Linked DNA regions of Homo sapiens: regions 1, 2, 4, 5 and 6 are each linked to region 3. Evidence: promoter capture Hi-C in 16 types of primary human blood cells and fetal thymus (Javierre and others, 2016). All regions are on one chromosome and are shown on one strand. Each heading gives the region's core, a stretch centred on a gene start or on the middle of the fragment in contact. The rest is flanking DNA. Distances are from core to core; before and after follow the strand shown. Region 1 overlaps PAXBP1 (PAX3 and PAX7 binding protein 1). Region 2 has its middle 17 kb from the start of EPCIP. Region 3 holds the start of DNAJC28 (DnaJ heat shock protein family (Hsp40) member C28). Region 4 overlaps SYNJ1 (synaptojanin 1). Region 5 overlaps LOC105377136 (a long non-coding RNA gene). Region 6 overlaps SYNJ1 (synaptojanin 1).

Evidence for each region. The method cuts DNA at HindIII sites, captures the fragments that hold promoters and counts their contacts. A CHiCAGO score of 5 or more calls a contact.
Region 1: a contact is called between a fragment that was not itself captured here and the fragment with the promoter of DNAJC28 in region 3, in 5 of 17 cell types (total CD8 T cells, naive CD8 T cells, naive B cells and 2 more). The highest score is 7.1, in total CD8 T cells.
Region 2: a fragment that was not itself captured here is called in contact with the fragment with the promoter of DNAJC28 in region 3 in 2 of 17 cell types (non-activated CD4 T cells and total B cells); the score reaches 5.6 in non-activated CD4 T cells.
Region 4: a contact is called between a fragment that was not itself captured here and the fragment with the promoter of DNAJC28 in region 3, in 1 of 17 cell types (total CD4 T cells). The highest score is 5.0, in total CD4 T cells.
Region 5: a fragment that was not itself captured here is called in contact with the fragment with the promoter of DNAJC28 in region 3 in 1 of 17 cell types (naive B cells); the score reaches 6.3 in naive B cells.
Region 6: a contact is called between a fragment that was not itself captured here and the fragment with the promoter of DNAJC28 in region 3, in 1 of 17 cell types (naive CD4 T cells). The highest score is 5.5, in naive CD4 T cells.

What each region holds. Positions count from the first base shown.
Region 1 is chr21:32,743,332-32,746,486 of GRCh38, forward strand. PAXBP1 (PAX3 and PAX7 binding protein 1) reads right to left here. Exons shown (of 18, transcript NM_016631.4): 12 at 2,243-2,387; 13 at 1,461-1,582; 14 at 347-423. Among named protein-coding and RNA genes, the nearest start is that of PAXBP1-AS1, 17 kb to the left of the region's middle. The HindIII fragment of the contact is 627 bases long and covers 1,072-1,698 here.
Region 2 is chr21:32,828,895-32,832,258 of GRCh38, forward strand. No RefSeq gene overlaps it. Among named protein-coding and RNA genes, the nearest start is that of EPCIP, 17 kb to the left of the region's middle. The HindIII fragment of the contact is 3,521 bases long and covers 1-3,364 here.
Region 3 is chr21:33,490,389-33,493,704 of GRCh38, forward strand. It overlaps DNAJC28 (DnaJ heat shock protein family (Hsp40) member C28), which reads right to left and starts at 1,328. Exons shown (of 2, transcript NM_001040192.3): 1 at 1,214-1,328. The HindIII fragment of the contact is 6,958 bases long and covers 1-3,316 here.
Region 4 is chr21:32,700,513-32,703,870 of GRCh38, forward strand. SYNJ1 (synaptojanin 1) reads right to left here. Exons shown (of 33, transcript NM_203446.3): 3 at 1,449-1,535. Among named protein-coding and RNA genes, the nearest start is that of SYNJ1, 26 kb to the right of the region's middle. The HindIII fragment of the contact is 8,759 bases long and covers 1-3,358 here.
Region 5 is chr21:32,929,446-32,932,371 of GRCh38, forward strand. It overlaps LOC105377136 (a long non-coding RNA gene), which reads left to right. Exons shown (of 6, transcript XR_937669.3): 6 at 1,407-2,690. Among named protein-coding and RNA genes, the nearest start is that of LINC01690, 28 kb to the right of the region's middle. The HindIII fragment of the contact is 221 bases long and covers 1,463-1,683 here.
Region 6 is chr21:32,717,795-32,720,679 of GRCh38, forward strand. The region is part of intron 2 of SYNJ1 (synaptojanin 1); the gene reads right to left. Among named protein-coding and RNA genes, the nearest start is that of SYNJ1, 8.8 kb to the right of the region's middle. The HindIII fragment of the contact is 2,462 bases long and covers 88-2,549 here.

The sequences.
Region 1 (3,155 bases), core at 135-2,634, 750 kb before region 3:
AAACATATCATGATCAGATATTTTATATGTAGGTGCCATATGATTCCTGGACAAAAGATTTTTCTACAAAACAGGTAAACAAAATAAATTTTTAATTTTTCAAATAATTGCATTCTGGAAGATAGTATGTTAAAAAGGCAATGGAAATTTATTCTGAGACACTCAGGGAGAACGTAAGAGTATTGTTTTATTCTGCTTAAGGGAACAATCTCGCCACTAATCTAGTCTCTCTGTAATACACTACATGGGTGAAGTTTGTATTTCAAGCTAGTTTTTCAGAATTTTATAAGCCTTCTCTGAAACACAATGGAGAATATTATCTTTAATGTTCTTCAGAGTTACTTACTTTTTGGGATATAAGGGCATAAATACATCATCATCTAAAGTTCTTCTCATTCTCAATAAAAGTGCCTTTAGGTATACCTAAAAAGTTAAAAGTAGATCACACATTTTAATAAGGACTATGACAAGAAAAATAAGCCATATTCCAAATCATGTAACTGAATATTGAACTGAGTGAACTAGTTTCTCAAATTTTTAATTTTCCTCATTGAAGACCCTAAAGTAATTAATACTTAATAATCTATTAGTTCATTCCTCAACAACTGCCAAGCAATAAAGCTTTAGAAATCTTTCAATTCCTTAGTCTACATAAAGATTTAAGACCAGACACATAATCTAGCTCTCAAAGTGAAAATTCAACAATGACAAAGAGCACCCACCTTCTCTACATTTAAACAGCTTCTATGAATGGCCCCTGAAGAGCATTAACTTTAAGTTTGGCAACTAGTTATAAAACAGTATCTAGTTGTTTTATATGCTGTTTAAATGGTTTGGGTGCCCAATCTTTTGGCTTCCCTGGGCCATACTGGAAGAACTGTCTTGGGCCACACATAAAATACAATGACACTAATGACAGCTGATGAGCTAAAAAAAAAAAAAAAAGAAAAAAAAAAAGGAGGGGGGCGGGGTCTGTGCATAAATTTCATGTATTAAGACAGTTTACAAATTTGTGTTGGGCCGCATTCAAAGCCGTCCTGGGCCACATGTCCATGGGCCACGGGTTGGACAAGCTTAAATTATCAATTGTTAACATTTTGGTTTCTCATTTCCCCCCAGAAAATACAGTCTTTAAAAGGACATTTGATTAGTTGGATTGGGACTGAGGTGTGGTGGTGAGAAATCATAATGAAAGGCTATTTAAAATGATGACATCTTCCTTCCATATTGATTTTTTTAAACTGAAAACTAACATCTCTCTGCGGGACTAGGTATAAAAAAAAGAAAAAAAAAACCTAACATCTCAAATTTTGTGTATTTCAGGCTTTAATGGCCCTGATGGCCCAAGTGGGAGAACCAGATTTCTGATTGGTTTAGGATAACCACTCATTCTCTCAATGCTTGCTCATATTCAACAGAAAGAGGAAAAAAAAAAAAGGCTTCAAAAGATACTAAATTACCTGTGTATTTTTATTTTCTGCATTCACTACTGAAGGATATCCATTGATTAATTTTAGTGTAATTCCCACCATTCTTGAAGTCTGTGTTGTAGAAAAAGGGTCCCACATATTTTCAGCTATCACTATTAAGAAAAAAAGAGGATTGAGACACAGAAGCCAATTGTACCTTTAATTTTTTGTCAAGCAGACCTCTATTAATGCCAATCCTAATTTATTTTTCCTCTTTTTCTACAATATAAGCTTTAGTCTTCTTTGTCCTATTAACTGTGGGAATTTGGAGGGATAGGGATGTGGAGAGAGGATAGATTATTCTTATTTCTGGTACTCAGGGAAAATAAAGATTAGGAAAAAAGAGGATTTCTGTAGAAATGTTGTCTTGGCATCAAGAATTTCAAACTAACATTTCTAGTATTTAAAATAGATTCCTGTATCAATGATTCCTAATCTTTTTTGAGGAACTTATGAAAGCATTTTAATTGCTCCCCACATAAATGCATATCCTCCTCCCTCAAACTCTGTATAATTTTGCTTCAGTCAGTCTTTGAATTTCTAAACCTCACCTATGAAGCAATTACTGCACTCAACTACAGGCCCACCCTAAAGTGGTCTTCAAGTCCCAGGATAAGAACCCCTCTGCCCTCTAGCCATCTCTGGGCCAGGTGGTAACTATTATTTCTCATGTAATTTCTATAAGGAAACATGCTCTGAATTATAAACTCATAAAAATAGATTTGAGAAAGCCAGTGTGTCTGAATGCTCAATTCAGAGAACAGGAGATTTACCTGTTAGTTTAGGAAGAATCACCTTTTCCACAATGGTAGGTAGTAGGGCAACATCTACATCATCTTTTTCTTGCTCTCGTTCTTCACAACCATAAAACAGCAAAGATTCAAACCACAGCATATTCTCAAAGTCACGACATTTTGCCTAAAAGACATTTAAAAGGTTACCCAAATACTAAAATAGTGGCTATTTCTGCTTCCAGCTATGATAAGAGAAACAAGAACTGGATTTAACCTTTGGTTGCAAACAACTAAAAACTGGACGGCTGGAGATATCATGCTACCAGACTTCAAACTATAAGGCCACAGTAACCAAAACAGCATGGTACTGATACAAAAACAGACACATAGACCAATGGAACAGAATAGAGAACTCAGCAATAAGACCGCACACCTACAACCATCTGATCTCCGACAAACCTGACACGAACAAGCAATGGGGAAAAGATTCCCTGTTTAATAAATGGTGTTGGGAGAATTGGCTAGCCATATACAGAAAATTGAAACTGGGCTCCTTCCTTACACCATATACAAAAGTTAAGTCAAGATGGATTAAAGACTTAAATGTAAACCCCAAAACTATAAAAATCCTAGAAGAAAATCTAGGCAATACCATTCAAGACATCGGCATGGGCAAAGATTTCACGACAAAAACACCAAAAGCAACTGCAACAAAAGCAAAAATTGACAAATGGTATCTAATTCAACTAAAGAGCTTCTACGCAGCAAAAGAAACTATTATCAGAGTGAACAGACAACCTACAGAATGGGAGAAAATTCTTGCAATCTATCCATCTGACAAAGGTCTAATATCCAGAGTCTACAGGAAACTTTATAGGAAAAAAACAACCCCATTAAAAGTGGGCAAAGGACATGAACAGATACTTCTCAAAAGAAGACATTCATGTAGCCA
Region 2 (3,364 bases), core at 446-2,945, 660 kb before region 3:
GGTATAACTTTTTATATGAAAAACTAATTTTCCCAGTTCTATTTATTGATATGCAAATATAAAATGTCTCTCTTTCTCTCTCTATATATATATCTGAGGTTGTTTTTGAGTGCTTTATATTCTTGCTTTGGTCTGAAAATTCACAGGTTGAAATTCTAACTCTTGAGACGATGGTATTAGAAAGCAGGGCCTTTGGAAGGCGATTACGTCATAAGGGTAGAGCCTTCAGGAATGGGACTTAGTGCCCTTAGAAGAAGCTGAGAGACCAGCGTTTTCTCTCTTCCATCATGTGAGGACACAGCAAGAAGGCACCATCTATGAACCAGAAAGTGCCCCTCACCAGACATCAAATCTGCTGGCACCTTGATCTTGAACTTCCAGCCTTTAGAACCATGAGGAATAAATGTCTGTTTTTATAAGTCATCCAATAGGTGATGTTTTGTTATAGGGCCTGAGTAGTCTTAGACAGTTACAGATGATTCGCTCTCACTGACTGTTGAATATTATTCTAAGTGTGGATATTACACAATTTATTTACCCATTCTACTATTTTAATTTTATTTTTTTTAATGTTTGAGACAGGATCTTGGTCTGTCACCCAGGCTAGAGTGCAGTGGCACAATCATGGTTCACTGTATCCTCCAACTTCTGGGCTTAAGGGTTCCTACCACCTCAACCTCCTGAGTAGCTGGGACTACAAGAATATGCCAACATGCCCAGCTAATTTTTCATCTTTAAAAAAAAATTATTTTGTAGAGTGGGATCTCACTATGTTGCCCAGGCTAATCTTGAACTCCTGGGCTCAAGCGATCCTTCTGCCTTGGCCTCCTAAAGTGCTGGGATTATAGGCGTGAGCCACTGTACCTAGTCCCATTCTACTATAGATGGGCATGTGGGTTGTATCCAGTTCTTTTACTATTATAAATAGTGAAGCCATGAACATTCTCCTAAATGTGTTTTGGTGAACATGTATATACATTTCTGTTGAGTATACATCCAAGATTGAAATTGCTGGGTCACAGACTACACATATGTTTCTGCTTTAGTAGATGTCGCCTGACAGTTTTCTAAGGTGGGTGGGCCATTTTACACCCCGACCAGTAGTATATGAGGGTCCCCGTTGTTCCTCACTCTTGCCCACACTTGATAGTGTCTTCTTCCCTTTAGTCATTCTTGTGTACACAATTGTGGTCCTAGGTGACATTTTCTTGATAACTATTTGAAGGCTATCTTCTTTGTGTGGTGACATAATTGCTCATAATTCTGCCCATTTTTTTCTTTTGGGTTGTCTGACATTTAATACAAATCGCTTTGTAGGAGTTCGTTATATAATCTGAATGAGTCCTTTGTTGAATACATGTATTTTAAATATATTCTCCCACTCTGTGGCTTAACTTTTCACTCTTAACACTGTCTTTTGATGAACAAAAGTTTTTAATCTTTTTTATTTTTTGAGACAGAGTTTCACTCTTGTTGCCTGGGGTGGAGTGCAATGGAGTGATCTCAGCTCACCACAAACTCTGCCTCCCAGGTTCAAGTGATTCTCCTGCCTCAGCCTCCTGAGTAGCTAGGATTACAGGCGTGCGCCATCATGCTCGGCTAATTTTGTGTTTTTAGTAGAGATGGAGTTTTTCCATGTTGGTCAGGATGGTCTCAAACTCCCGACCTCAGGTGATCCACCTCCCTTGGCCTCCCAAAGTGCTGGGATTACAGGCATGAGCTGCTGCGCCTGGCCGAAAGTTTTTAATATTAATGTGTTTTAATTTACTTATTTTTTCTCTATGATTATCACATTTTTTGTGTTGGTTAAATAGACCTTTGGCTACTTCAGTTTCATGAAAATATTTTCCCATGCTCTATCACAAAAGTTTTACTGTTTTATTAAGTTAAACCATATGAAATTACTAATAGTCAACATAAAAAATAGGAGTTTCATATGGTTTAACCCAATACATTTAATCTATGATCTGTCTGGAATTGATTTTCATCTTTGGTGTGAGTCAGGGGTCAAGATTTTAAACAAATTTAATTGTCTGATTGTCAATTTCTTATGAATTGGATGACTGTATATATGTGGGTCTGTTTCTCAACTCACCATTCTGTTCTATTGTTTTTTTTCATTCTTGTACCGATACCTTACTGTCTTGGCCACTAGAGTTTTATGATAGGTCTTTTATAAATTTTAATAGCTCCGAAGTGTTCTTCAAGATTGCCTTAGCTACTCTTAGCCCACTATGTTTCCATTTAATTTTAGAATCTCTTGTTTTAGAATTATTGCTTTATATATATTTAAGTTGACATGTAATAATTGTACACATTTATGGGGCACATAGTGATGTTTTGGTACATATAAAGTATAGTGATCAGAATAACAAGAATTAGCATATCCATCATTTCAAACATTTATCATTCGTTTGTATGGGGGACATTTGATATCCTCCTTCTAGCTGTTTGAAACCACATATTATTTTTGACTACAGTCATCCTACAATGGTATAGAACACTGGAACTTATTCCTCCTTGACGCTATTTTATATGATGCCCTCTACTCTAGAATTGTTGTTCTAAACAACAGAATGTTAGTTACTCTCTTTTCTAGATAATCAGAATGTTAGTTACCCTCTTTATTGTTATTTTGTCTAAAATTGATGTGGCGATCCTAGATTTTTTTTTTGGTTCCTATTTGTCTGGTATATCTTTATTCATCACTTTATTCCCTTGTCCTCCATATGTTTTGGATTATCTTTTATAAATAGAATGTAACTGATTTTTTTTCTTTTTGAGACAGAGTCTCGCACTTTCCCCCAGGCTGGAGTGCAGTGGGACGATCTTGGCTCACTGCAACCTCCGCCTCCTGGGTTCAAGCGATTCTCCTGCCTCAGCCTCCTGAGTAGCCGGGATTACAGGAGCCCACCACCACCCCCAGCATTTTTTTTAGTATTTTTAGTAGAGACTGGGTTTCACCATGTTGGCCAGGCTGGTTTCGATCTCCTGACCGCATGATCTGCCTGCCTCAGCCTCCCAAAGTGCTGGGACCACAGGCGTGAGCCACCGCGCCCGGCCTTTTTTTTTTTTTTGATGGAGTTTCGCAACCTCTGCCTCCCAGGTTCAAGCTCTTCTCCTGCCTCAGGCTCCCAAGTAGCTGGGATTACAGGCATGTGGCACCACGCCTGGCTAATTTTGTATTTTTAGTAGAGACAGGGTTTCTCCATGTTGGTCAGGATGGTCTCGAACTCCTGACTTCAGGTGATCTACCTGCCTTGGCCTCCCAAAGTGCTGGGATTACAGGCATGAGCCACTGCGCCCAGCCAAATATAACTGATTTTTAAATCTAATCTGTTTTTACTGTGGGAATTTGAGCCAT
Region 3 (3,316 bases), core at 78-2,577:
GAGCCACCGCACCCAGCCCCACCAGCTGCATTCTTATAGCTATATTTCACTGATGTGGGCAGAAAAGTGGAAGCTGATGAAGTTTAGTGTTAACATATTGTGGGGCCAGGCACGGTGGCACACGCCTGTAATCCCAGTACTTTAGGAGGCCGAGGTGGGTGGATCACCTGAGGTCAGGAGTTCGAGATCAGCCTGGCTAACATGGCAAAACCCTGTCTCTACTAAAAATACAAAAATTAACTGGAGGTTGCAGTCCCAGCTACTCGGGAGGCTGAGGCAAGAGAATCGCTTGAACCCGGGAGGTGGAGGTTGCAGTGAACCGAGATCGTGCCACTGCACTCCAGCCTGGGCAACAGAGTGAGACTCTGTCTCAAAAAAATATAGATAGATAGAATCTGGATTCTACCCCTCACTAACTAACCGTATATTTTACAAGTGGAAAGTTCTTAGAGATCATCTAATCCAATCTTCTCATTTAATGAGAAAACGTAGGTCCGGAAGGTTAAGCAATTTAACCAAGTCCCATAACAAGGTGTAAGCAAAATGGTTAGGGGTGGGCACAGTAAAAAAGGAGGCTTGCTTAACTGTCTATACCTCCAGCCGATTATAAACTGCACGAGAGTCTGCATCATCTCAAGAAGTCTTCTCATAAGACGACTTATGGACAAGGTACGTACCTGGTCTGATACTGGATTGAATAGAATCAAGTGTCCAAAAGACTTTAAGCTCCACAGCTCGCTAGGAAGGAGCTATCTGCCAGAGGCCAGAAAAACCATGATGAATTGTGAGGCCTCCCAACACGTTTGCTGCTATTGCAATAACATGGTCTCGAAGAGGAGGAAGACTTGTACACTGACAATGGCCAAAAAATACTGGAAGTGGCTTAATTGGAATTGGGATATATAAACGCTAAAACGGAGCTCCTGAGACCCCCTATTTTCTAGGCAATCGGTGCCAACGGTCTGGGAGCCGGCTGCGAAGGTGGTTATCATGGCAAGGGAGGTCGGTCCTGCCCCGCCCCCTCCTCACCTGCGCAGACCTGGGGTAGGGGTTCCGCGGCTCCCGCCCCCCTGCCGCGCCTCTGCGCATGCGTGCGCGGTCCGCCCTTCACTGCGGGTGTCCCTCCCACCGCCTCCAGCTGGTGCCTCCGCCGGGCTAGACCATTTGCCACTTTACACTGAGGGGCTCGGGGGTACGGAAGGCAGAATCGTACCTGATTGGGACAGGTGACCTTACCAGGAAAACGGACAATCTTCCGCCAAACGAACTTTACCCCGGAGGACCCAGGCAGGGCACCTCGGGAGCCTTCGTCCCGACCGGGGACCACCAGCTCCACCTCCGTCCCCGCCCCGAGCGGAGGTGGTCCGGCCGATTGGGATTGTGGGAGATGTAGTTCGCTAGAAGGGGCGATGTGCGCCTGCGCCTCTCGGGAGGGACTTAGGGGGCGTCGAAAATGATGTAAAGACCGAGTTGGCGGCGTGGGGAGTTGTGGCTCGGAGGGCGAGGGTAACTTTCTGGGGGCAGGGGAAGGCAAGGCTGTTTCCCCGGAACGGGACCGGAACAGGTTTATTCGGGGTCACAGAAGGAGTCACCTGCGCAGATACATGAGGCTTAAAACCTGCCCTTTTATTAATTCAAGTACTGTTGAGGGGCTGGCGACAGGCCAGAGGACAAAATCAAAATAGGGATCTTCTGGCTTGGAGTTCAACCACTGACGTGGGGACTGAGCATTTCCCCTCTCTGTACAGGAAGCAAGTTTTTTAACAAGGAAAAAGAAAAAGGATAAAAAGAAAAAGGCAGAGGCTTGGGAGTTTTCAGATCTGGGTTGAAAATCCTGTTTCTTCTGCTTGCACCTTAGGCAAGATACCTGCAAAATGAGAGTTGCAATAAATAGTAAACTATAGTAAATAGTATGCCATTGTGCTAAGTGCTTTATGTATATTCTCATTTACTTTTTTTTTTTTTTTTTTGAGACAGAGTCTCGCTCTGTCGCCCAGGCTGGAGTGTGGTGGCGCGATCTCGGCTCGCTGCAACCTCCACCTCCCGGGTTTAAGCTATTCTCCTGCCTCAGCCTCCCGAGTAGCTGGAATTACAGGCGCGCACCACCATGCCCAGCTAATTTTTTTGTATTTTTAGTGGAGACCAGGTTTCACCATGTTGGCCAGGCTGGTCTCGAACCCCTGAGCTAAGGTGATCTGCCTGCCTCGGCCTTTCAAAGTGCTGGGATTACAGGCATTCATTTAATCTTTACAACAGCCCTCTGAGATAAATGCTGTTATTTTCCCTATTTTACATATAATGAAATAATAATTGTATCAACTTCATTGACTTTTTTAGGGGGAGAATTACACAATGTATGTAAACCACTTGGCACTGTGCCTCGCACATTAAGCAATATTTTTTGTTATGACTGTGTCTCCTAAAAGGAGCCAGAAATAGGTATTAGCCTCCTCAGCTTCTACATCATAAACATTAGAATCATTTATTGCCATCTATGTAGGAACACAGAAAAAGATACAGTATAAACTCTGATTCTGAGGGCTTTAGTTATAAGCAAACAATCAACAAAATAACTCATGTGAAAGAAAATAGGATTTCTGGCCGGGCGCGGTGCTCACGCCTGTAATCCCAGCACTTTGGGAGGCCGAGGCGGGCGGATCACGAGGTCAGGAGATCGAGACCATCCTGGCTAACACGGTGAAACCCCGTCTCTACTAAAAATACAAAAAATTAGCCAGGTGTGGTGGCGGGCGCCTGTAGTCCCACCTGCTCGGGAGTCTGAGGCAGGAGAATGGCGTGAACCCGGGAGGCGGAGCTTGCAGTGAGCCTAGATCGTGCCACTGCACTCCAGCCTGGGCGACAGAGCCAGACTCCGTCTAAAAAAAAAAAGACCTGGCCACTAAAAAATTTTTAAAAAGAAAAATAAGGCCAGACGCAGTGCTCACGCCTGTAATCTCAGCACTTTGGGAGGCTGAGGCAGGTGGATAACCTGAGGTCGGGAGTTTGAGACCAGCCTGACCAACACGGAAAACCCCCATCTCTCTAAAAATACAAAAAATTAGATGGGCGTGGTGGCGCATGCCTGTAATCCCAGCTACTCGGGAGGCTGAGGCAGGAGAATCGTTTGAACCCTGGAGGTGGAGGTTGCAGTGAGCTGAGATTGCGCCACTGCACTCCAGCCCAGGTGACAGTGCGAGACACTGTCTCAAAAAAAAAAAAAGCCACCAAGCAAAACTTCCTAAAAGTTGCCAGTAGCCATCCCCCTCTTCTGCTTCCAGGCCCAGTAAGGTGCCTTATATCTCTCAATCTCATCCTT
Region 4 (3,358 bases), core at 509-3,008, 790 kb before region 3:
GGCGTGGTGGTGCATGCCTGTGATCCCAGCTACTCAGGAGGCTGAGGCAGGAGAATCACTTGAACCTGGAAGGTGGAGTCTGCAGTGAGCCAAGATCACACCATTGCACTCCAGCCTGGGCAACAGGAGCTAAAACTACGTCTCAAAAAAAACCACACGAACAAACAAACAAGAAAAAAACTTTATCAAATAAAAAAGTATGTGTTACCTTCTCTACTTTTGCTTAATGATTGTCAGAAAATTCAGGTAAGATAATGAATTCACACTCATTTTAACAAGTTCTTTGTAAATAGTAAAGTTGAAAAAATGGTATACTATTATCAGCTGATGATGTTGATGACAAATGGACAAAAGTCTCTGGTAACAACTTATAAAGCAATTTGGTTTACAAAAACTTTCACAGAGATTTTTTTCATGTAATTATGACAAAAAGCCTATGAAATTAGTATAAAGTTGAAATTGAGCAATGGTATACTGTGAGCATGGGCTCTGACACAGGTAGAAGCGGCCCTGAATCTTGGCTCCATTACTTATTACCTGGACCAATTTCAGTATGTAGCATAACGAACCTGAGATATCATCTCTTATAAAAAGAGATTAAAGCAAATACCTCATTATACTGTGAGGCTTACCCAGGAGTAATCAGTAAAGCACCTAAGCGCAGTGCTTTATATGTGATAGATTCATAACAAATGACAAATCTCCATTTTATAGACCAGTGCTACTCAAAGTATGGTCCATGAACTGTTACCAGCTCACAATGAGAAAGGACACTTACACCAGAATGGAAATCAACTATATTACTAAGTTCACCCTTTAGTTGAGCTGACTTTTTTTTCTAGTAAGACTTTATCAATGAAGGAAGCCACATGTTGATTTGTATCATAGTGCAAGCTCCTTATCTTATCACGGATCAATAACAAAATGATTTATGGACCAGTACCAATGTTGAAGAACACTTTGAGCTGCAAAATTACAGATAAACTAGTAACTGCAAAGGTTACTCTGCAGCTCACGGTGACATTACGTGGCAAAAAAAAAAAAAAGGCTCAAGCAGACACTTTCTGAATTCAAAACAGATGTCTTTTCCAATACAAACCAAGAAAAATCAGTGTAGTTCTCATGCAGACACTTTTTCCTAAATGCACTGAATCAACAAAAAGGAGAATGTTCTGATTTTCTCTTTTGACAACTGATACTTATCTCTTCAAGTGGTCAAACCAGAGACTGTCTCCGAACTTCCACTCACATGAGTTTGAGCATGTAGCACGCCTTTTTGGGCAACAAACATTATCACAATATTAGCTACATTAATGTTTAAAAGATGTTAGCACATGTGTAGCTTAAATATGGAGTCTACAATAATTCATAGCTAGTCCCTCTCAAATCCTTAGAATTACAAAATAGAAATGAAAAAATGGATGAATTCTACTGAATGATAAACTTACCAAGATTTAACCGCAGAACACCTAAGAGTCCATATGCATCCAGTACTTTGGAGTATGTACCCTTGATTGCCTCTTTTTCTGCAGATGCTACAAAAAAAAGTTTTAGTTTAAGAAAAATGACCTGAAACATTGGATTCTATTTAGCTAAGTATAAATCCAGAGTTTCAATCAAAAGTTTCTAAATCTGATATTCTTAAAATAAATGTACTGCATATTTTCTTAAACTAGTAACATTAGTATTCTTCCCAAAGAGTTAATAAATTATTCCAAGACCATCTATTAATTAATCCATCCTGTCCACTGATCTGAACTCTGTCTTCTTACCCTTTTATTCTTGACAGAATAGTGCTCGACACTTAGAAACTGACAAAACATTTAAATGATAAAAGCTAATGGCAACACTTGACTACACAAATGTAGGGCAAGAATAGGGAAATCTGATTCTGAAAGGACAAAAGTCTGGTCTTTGCCTTGATTTATTTCTTCTGCTATAAAGTTAACGTTACCTTGTTAATGAATATAAACCACAGAATAATTTTCCTAAGACAGGCTATTATGATTATTCTATTGAGAAGAAAAAACAACAAAAAAAAATCAAATCCTGAAACGTTAAAGAAAAAACCTTCCTAGCACTTAGCAATTACACATTAAAAATTTCACAAAGAACCAAAGAAATATTAACAACCAGTATTTCAAAGGACAAATACAAATAATACATCCCACAGTCTACAGTTGATCCTTGAGAAAGATACCTTCCTTTCCTTCCAGGTTTCTTTCCTTCTTTGCTTTTTTCCCTTTTCCATTATCTACACCACACTCAACTCACCTCCTGGCTGACTGGTTCATACCTTATTTACTTCTTATCTCTTACACTTATCCCCTTTCCTTTATCTACAAAATAGGATGTTTGGCAACACTGACGTGTTCCACGTTAGAAAATCACGTAAGTAGATACTTATGACTGTCTCATTTCCTGTCCATCTTTATTGCCAACAAAAGGGCTCTTCTCAGCCTACTGCTTTGCCTAATACTCCTTTGTACTTTGCATTAGAGATCTTCTACTTTGCCTGAAGCTCTTCTCCAGAGTCCTATAGAACATCTCACTTTCCCTGCCTGCTTCACCTCTTTTCAGACCACGTAGGCTTAAGCCTTCTTCCTAGTGATCTGGCTTCTGCCTTCTGATGAGTTTTGCTCTGCTAGTTGCAGCACAGGCTAAGACTAACTGACTCAGTCACTCAATTAGCTGATATTTTCACGATTCTCTAACATGTTCATTATTAAGTGTGGGCCATTATCAAACCACCCAGTATGAAATTAGGGAGTGGAGATTCGCCAACCCGTTAAAGTGATGGGGATTTATATTTCATTCTGTATTCCTTGAGTTCCTATTATTATTACATCTTATGTTTATCCAACAGTTGATCCTAACATTCCATGACAAGCAACCCAAATGTAAAACATTACAATATAAACTTTAATTACATTTTATAAAGCAAAATAGAATTGCCTTCTAAATACTGCCTCGTTAAGAGTACCATATGTACTGTAAACATTAGAGAGACTTGTTATACCTCTCAGGACAGAAGGCATGACTTCCAGGATAAATATTATTCTAGAGGTTTACAAGTTATATGCCATATACATTTAAAATACAATCACTAATATAGTAATATAGAAAGTACTAGATATATCCATTTCAGCAGCAATCATCATTTGGGTTCAAATGCCAGGAGGCAGTAGGAGTTAAGAAGAAAATATAGTTTTATTTTTATTTTTATTTTTTTTTTTTGAGACAGAGGCTGGAGTTCAGTGACACAATCACAGCTCAATGCAGCCTTGACCTCCAGGGCTCAAGTAATCCTCCCACCTCAGCCTCCCAAGGAGCTGGGACTACAGGCATGTGCCACTAT
Region 5 (2,926 bases), core at 323-2,822, 560 kb before region 3:
AATTAGCCAGGCATGGTGGCTGGCGCCTGTAATTCCAGCTACTCGGGAGGCTGAAGCGGGAGAATCACTTGACCTGGGAGGTGGAGTTTGCGGTGAGCCGAGATCGCACCATTGCACTCTAATCGGGGCGACAAGAGTGAAACTCCATCTAAAAAAAAAAAAGTGTTTGACTTTAATGAGTTATTACTTCCTGGCTTAACCCCTTTTACTTTACAGAAAAGACATAAAAAAGTGAAATTACTTGTCTAAGTTCACAATAATGGCTGACTGTGACAATGCTGGGCCTAGACTTCAGATCTAATCATTCTAAGTGTAGTGGACTCGGAGATAGCTGAGATAGAGGAGGTGGCGGGGGAGAAGTGCTAACTGCTTTATTCTCTCATCTGAAAGCTTTAAGTCTGTTAAAAATAGAACTTGCCTAGTCAAAGTAATACTCTCAGCTATTATTATTCAATTATACCTTGGTGTGAATGAGTGTGACATCCTTTTCTGAGAAATAACCCATTAAAGAACCACAGAGGAGAAAAGAGTAGAGGCTGGAGAAAGTGCAGGACTTGAAAGACAAGGAGTCTAACCATACATTTTATCTACTCAAAATGTAGAGCAGATGCACCAGAAAATATTAACAGTGGCTATCTCTGGGTGTTAGGATAAGAGTTGCTTTTGTTTTGTTTTAGTTTTTTTATATTTTCCAAGTTTTCTGCCTAATACACATATTACTTTTATCATTCATTCTTTGTTATCTAACACAGATTTTTTTTTTTTTTTTTTTTTTTTTTGAGACAGAGTCTTCCTCTTGTCACCCAGGCTGGAGTGCAGTGGCACAATCTCAGCTCACTGCAACCTCCACCTCCCAGGTTCAAGCAATCCTCCTGCTGGGATTACAGATGCCCACCCCCATGCCTGGCTGTTTTTTGTATTTTTAGTAGAGATGGGGTTTCGCCATGTTGCCCAGGCTGGTCTGGAACGCCTGACCTTATGATCTGCCCACCTTGACCTCCCAAAGTGCTGGGATTACAGGTGTGAGCCACCGTGCCCAGGTTTTGCCCCAACCTTTTTGGTACCAGGGACCAGTTTCACGGAAGACAATTTTTCCATGGATGGGGTGCGGGGGGATGGTTTCAGAATAATTCAAGTGCATTACGCTTATTGTGCACTGATTTCTATTATTATTACATTGTGATAGACAATGAAATAATTATACAACTCACCATAATGTAGAATCAGTAGGAACCTGAGCTTGTTTTCCTGCAACTAGGTGGTCCCATCTAGGGGTGAGGGGAGACAGTGACAGGTCATCATGCATTAGATTCTCATAAATAGCAGCAATCTAGATCCCTCGCATGCGCAGTTCACAATAGCGTTCATGCTTCTCTGAGAATCTAATGCTGCCTCTGATCTGACAGGAGGTGGAGCTGAGGCAGTAATGCGAGTGATGGGGAGCAGCTGTAAATACAGATGAAGCTTGGCTCGCTTGCCTGCTGCTCAGCTCCTGCTGTGCGGGCTGGTTCCTAACGAGCAAGAAGAAACCTGGAGGACACTTTGGTTTCATCAAGCAACACTTGCCACCAGGAAGGCGTTGAGTGCCAATTCCACACCCAATACCCCCAGGTAGAGGAAGTCTTGGGCCTTGGGGTTTGCAGTCTAGTTTCCTGGTAGTGTCTGTCATGGGGCTGAAGACCAAGCTTCGTCTTCATGCTAGACTTTGCCCATTTGGATATTTCATATCTTGAGAGGCAAAGAGAGCTTCTGCAATGTTTGAGGCCAAAATTCAAAGCAGAGCCAGGCCCAGGAATCCCATCAAGCAAGGCCTGTTGCCCATTCTGCTACGATTCAGATAACTTTTGAGAATATAAATGGCTCCCTGGGCCACTGTCTTAATCTTTCTATACCTTGGTGAGGCTTCTGTTAATGGTAGAATCTAGATGAAGGATAGTTTGGGCCACTTCGTAAATGTGGGTAGTGATCTTATTCAGATTAGATGATTTTGTTCAGATTAGGATGCCAAAAGTCTGGAACAAGGCAAGACCAGAAAGTCTGGTTAGGCAAGAGGCAAATGGTTTAAAACAGAGACCTTCACAATTTGGCAAGCTTTTAAATTACTTGGAGTATGCAAAATACAGTTGCCTGGACCTTACCCGAGACCCACGGGAAAACAACAACAACAACAACAGGGCAGGTTCCATGGATCTGTGCCGGGCTATTCCCCCAGAGAAATCAGGGAAAATTATAGATGTCCATAATTCCAGACAGAATTATAGGTCCCTGAGCTTGGTTTGCTGAGATAACATGTTGCTTTTCTCTCTCTCTCTCTTTTTCTCTCTCTCAATGTCTCTCCCTTTTCAAAAGTAGATGTCACCTTTCTGATCCAATGCTTGATTGCTAGCTGGGCTGAACCAGAAGCATCACGTCTAGTTAGTCTAGATGTGGATGCAATTCAGTAATCATAAACATTAGAGCTAGAATATTGTAGGTAATTGATGTAACCAAATGAAGAACCAGAGACCCAGAGATGAAAAGTTCCTTGCCCAGATCTGCAAACTCACATCCAGGTTGCTCCCTGCCTACCCTCATCTCTTACAAGCCAGCATCCTTTTACAGCAGACTGTGGGCCCCAAAGCACAGCTGTGGACAAGAGGGCACTGTACATTCACCCCAAGGTCTCAAGGCCACCAGGGGCTTGGTCAGCGTTTGTGGTTGTGGCACTTCGCATTTGCCTCTTTGAGGGCTCCCAAAAACCCACTTCCTGGCCGGGCATGGTGGCTCACGCCTGTAATCCCAGCACTTTGGGAGGCCAAGGCAGGCAGATCACTTGAGGTCAGGAATTCAAGACCAGCCTGGCCAACATGGTGAAACCCCATCTCTACCAAAAATGCAAAAATTAGCCAGGCATGGTGGTGGGTTCCTGTAGTCCCAGCTACTCGAG
Region 6 (2,885 bases), core at 69-2,568, 770 kb before region 3:
TTTGTGCAACTGTCTCATCTCTAGTACACAGCCCTGAGATTCTGGCTGCCTTGGCCTCCCCATATTCCCTACTCAGGAATCCTGTCAAGCTTTGCTTGAGTGACTCTTCTGCTGCTGTGGCCTGGAAGCTCTCCAGGCAGTAAGCTGGAGCATTCATAAAACCCACCTCATTTGTTTCCCTTCTCTCAGGGGTCAGCATCTTGTGCTGCCTTTTGTTCAAGGTCTGCAAATCATTCCATGTATTTTGTTCATTTTGTTGTTGTTACTTAAGGTAGGAGGGTAAATCTAGTTCCTGTTACTCCACTATGGTCAGAAGCTCCCGTTATAGTCCTGAGTTACGTATATTTTATAGGACAAGTTAGAACATCTGATAGACCTGAGATGATGTAATAAAAAGCCACAGAGTTTTTACTATTCAGTGAGAGTGGAAGTTCTGCCTTTCCTTTTTATTTCCTCATAGCAAAGTTAAGTGGTGAAGAAATGAAAGCACTTAAGAACTAACTACTGGTTTGACCCTAGGTCAATCCTACTACCAACCCAGAATAAAAAAGTTTGGTTGATTTTCTTTTTAAAGAGTTGACATTTAAGTTACTTTCTATTAAATACGTACATTCCTCAGACTACAGGGGCACATAAAAAAAGAAAGAAAATAAATATGCACCTTCCAAAGGTATTTATAAAAAGAAAATGAATTTTTGCAACCCTAACATAAAGTGATATATAACAAGTCTAAATTTCATGATTTCTCTGCTGAAAAAGTCAACTATAAAAAGTCACTTCTTCCCTCAACTTGCAAATTTTTCTTTAAAAGAGACAGGACACTGCAACTTATCTAAAGGGCAATCATGTTGACAGCGTTTGGCAATTAAAAAAAAAAAACAAACTACACACACTGTTTGGCATTACCACCTACTATATTTATCCAAAAGTCTAGAACCTGACATTTAACTTGGCCCAGGAAAGAAACTTTGTTTTTAATGACTTTACTGTAAATTAAACCATACTTTCTCCTCTAATATATTAATATGTTAATAGTTTGTAGGGAAAAACACAAGTGTACAGTTCCCTCATTAGAAAATGCTACCAATTACACTCTTAACCTTAACGCCTTCCCTTATTTTTACACTTCATTCCCCACCCCTGAAAATAATAGCCACACAATATATGGTAATACAATAGCCTCACAACAGCACAAACAATAATTACAGTAAAAAAAAATTAAATGGTAGGACTATGTCATTGGGGCAGTTATCTTTCCAATCCTCAGTTTCCAAATCTCTGAAATGTGGATAAAAGCACAATCTGAACTGAATGAAATAAAGTGTGTCAAATGCCACATCTCCTGAACTGTGTGCTCAGATGCCCCACGGCACTACAGCAAACTCCCAGGGAAGCTGCATATTTTAAACAGAAGGAAACACTGAGATTCTCAACACATGCTGGAAACCAGCCAAACTATTAACCTGAGGTGCTTGAGTTGTCATATTAGATTGCAGTGCATTCCTTGGATGATATATATTAGTGAAACCGGGTTTTTGCTGGTTGCTGTGATAAAAGCAAGTGTCACTTGAAAATCAATGTGGAACAGGAAATGAGGACGGCAGTGTACTCTGTTCCAAGGTTTGAAAAGCTATGCAGGCTGGGAGCAGTGGCTCACGCCCGTAATCCCAGCACTTTGGAAGGCCATGGTGGGCAGATCACCTGAGGTCAGGAGTTCGAGACCAGCCTGGCCAACATGGTGAAACCCCGTCTCTACTAAAAATACAAACATTAGCCAGGTGTGGTAGCGGGTGCCTGCAATCCCAGCTACTTGAGAGGCTGAGGCAGGAGAATTGCTTGAACCCGTAGGCAGAGGTTGCAGTGAGCCGAGACCGTGCCATTGCACTCCAACCTGGGTGACAAGAGTAAAACTCCATCTTAAAAAAAAAAAAAAAGAAAGAAAAAGAAAAGCTATTTAGTGCTCAGTGCTCAACAAGCACACACATCTCATTAGTAAATTGTGGTTACTTATGAAGAAAATAAATGTTCTATTTTTTCTGCATTTTTTTTTTTGAACAGCTACAAAAGCTGTTGGGACACAAATATTTTTTGGACCTAACTATTTAATAAACAGAACTATTAAGTATTGTTTGTGGCCTAGGGGTGTTGTGAAAAACTTAACGAGGCCAGGCACAGTGGCTCACACCTGTAATCCCAGGACTTTGGAAGGCCGAGGTGGGCAGATCACCTGAGGTCAGGAGCTCAAGACCAGCCTGACCAACATGGAGAAACCCCGTCTCTACTAAAAATACAAAATTAGCTGGGCGTGGTGCCACATGCCTGTAATCCCAGCTACTTGGGAGGCTGAGGCAGGAGAACTGCTTGAACCCGGGAGGCAGAGGTTGCAGTGAGCCGAGATCGCACCATTGCACTCCAGCTTGGGCAACAAGAGCGAAACTCTCCCTCTCAAAAACAAAAACAAAAACAAAAACAACTTAATGAGATAATAAGGTCACCATAAAACAATGAAGTTTAAAAACCTCTGGCTTAATGTTGTGACTGGCAGAATAAGCTTCCAGTAAGTGGTAGCCATTATCATTTCACTACGATTAGTCCTTTACGCAGTTTTATAGAAAAGAGAGGATATTTCATATTCTGTAATAAAGATCTCAGAATATCATCCTATAGTATTATGACTTATATTGAGTATTATATATAGTATTATGACTTATGTTGTAAGAAAAAATTAGGTAGACAAAGAATCTCATAAGGACAACTTGGAGGAAAACCAGGTGCAGTGATATGGCCTTGCTATTTATAAAATGCATGATTTGAGTCCTAATCTGACTCAAATTATGCTACTTGAAAAGCCTGAAAGTAATCTTACCACTAGACAGATAAAAGCA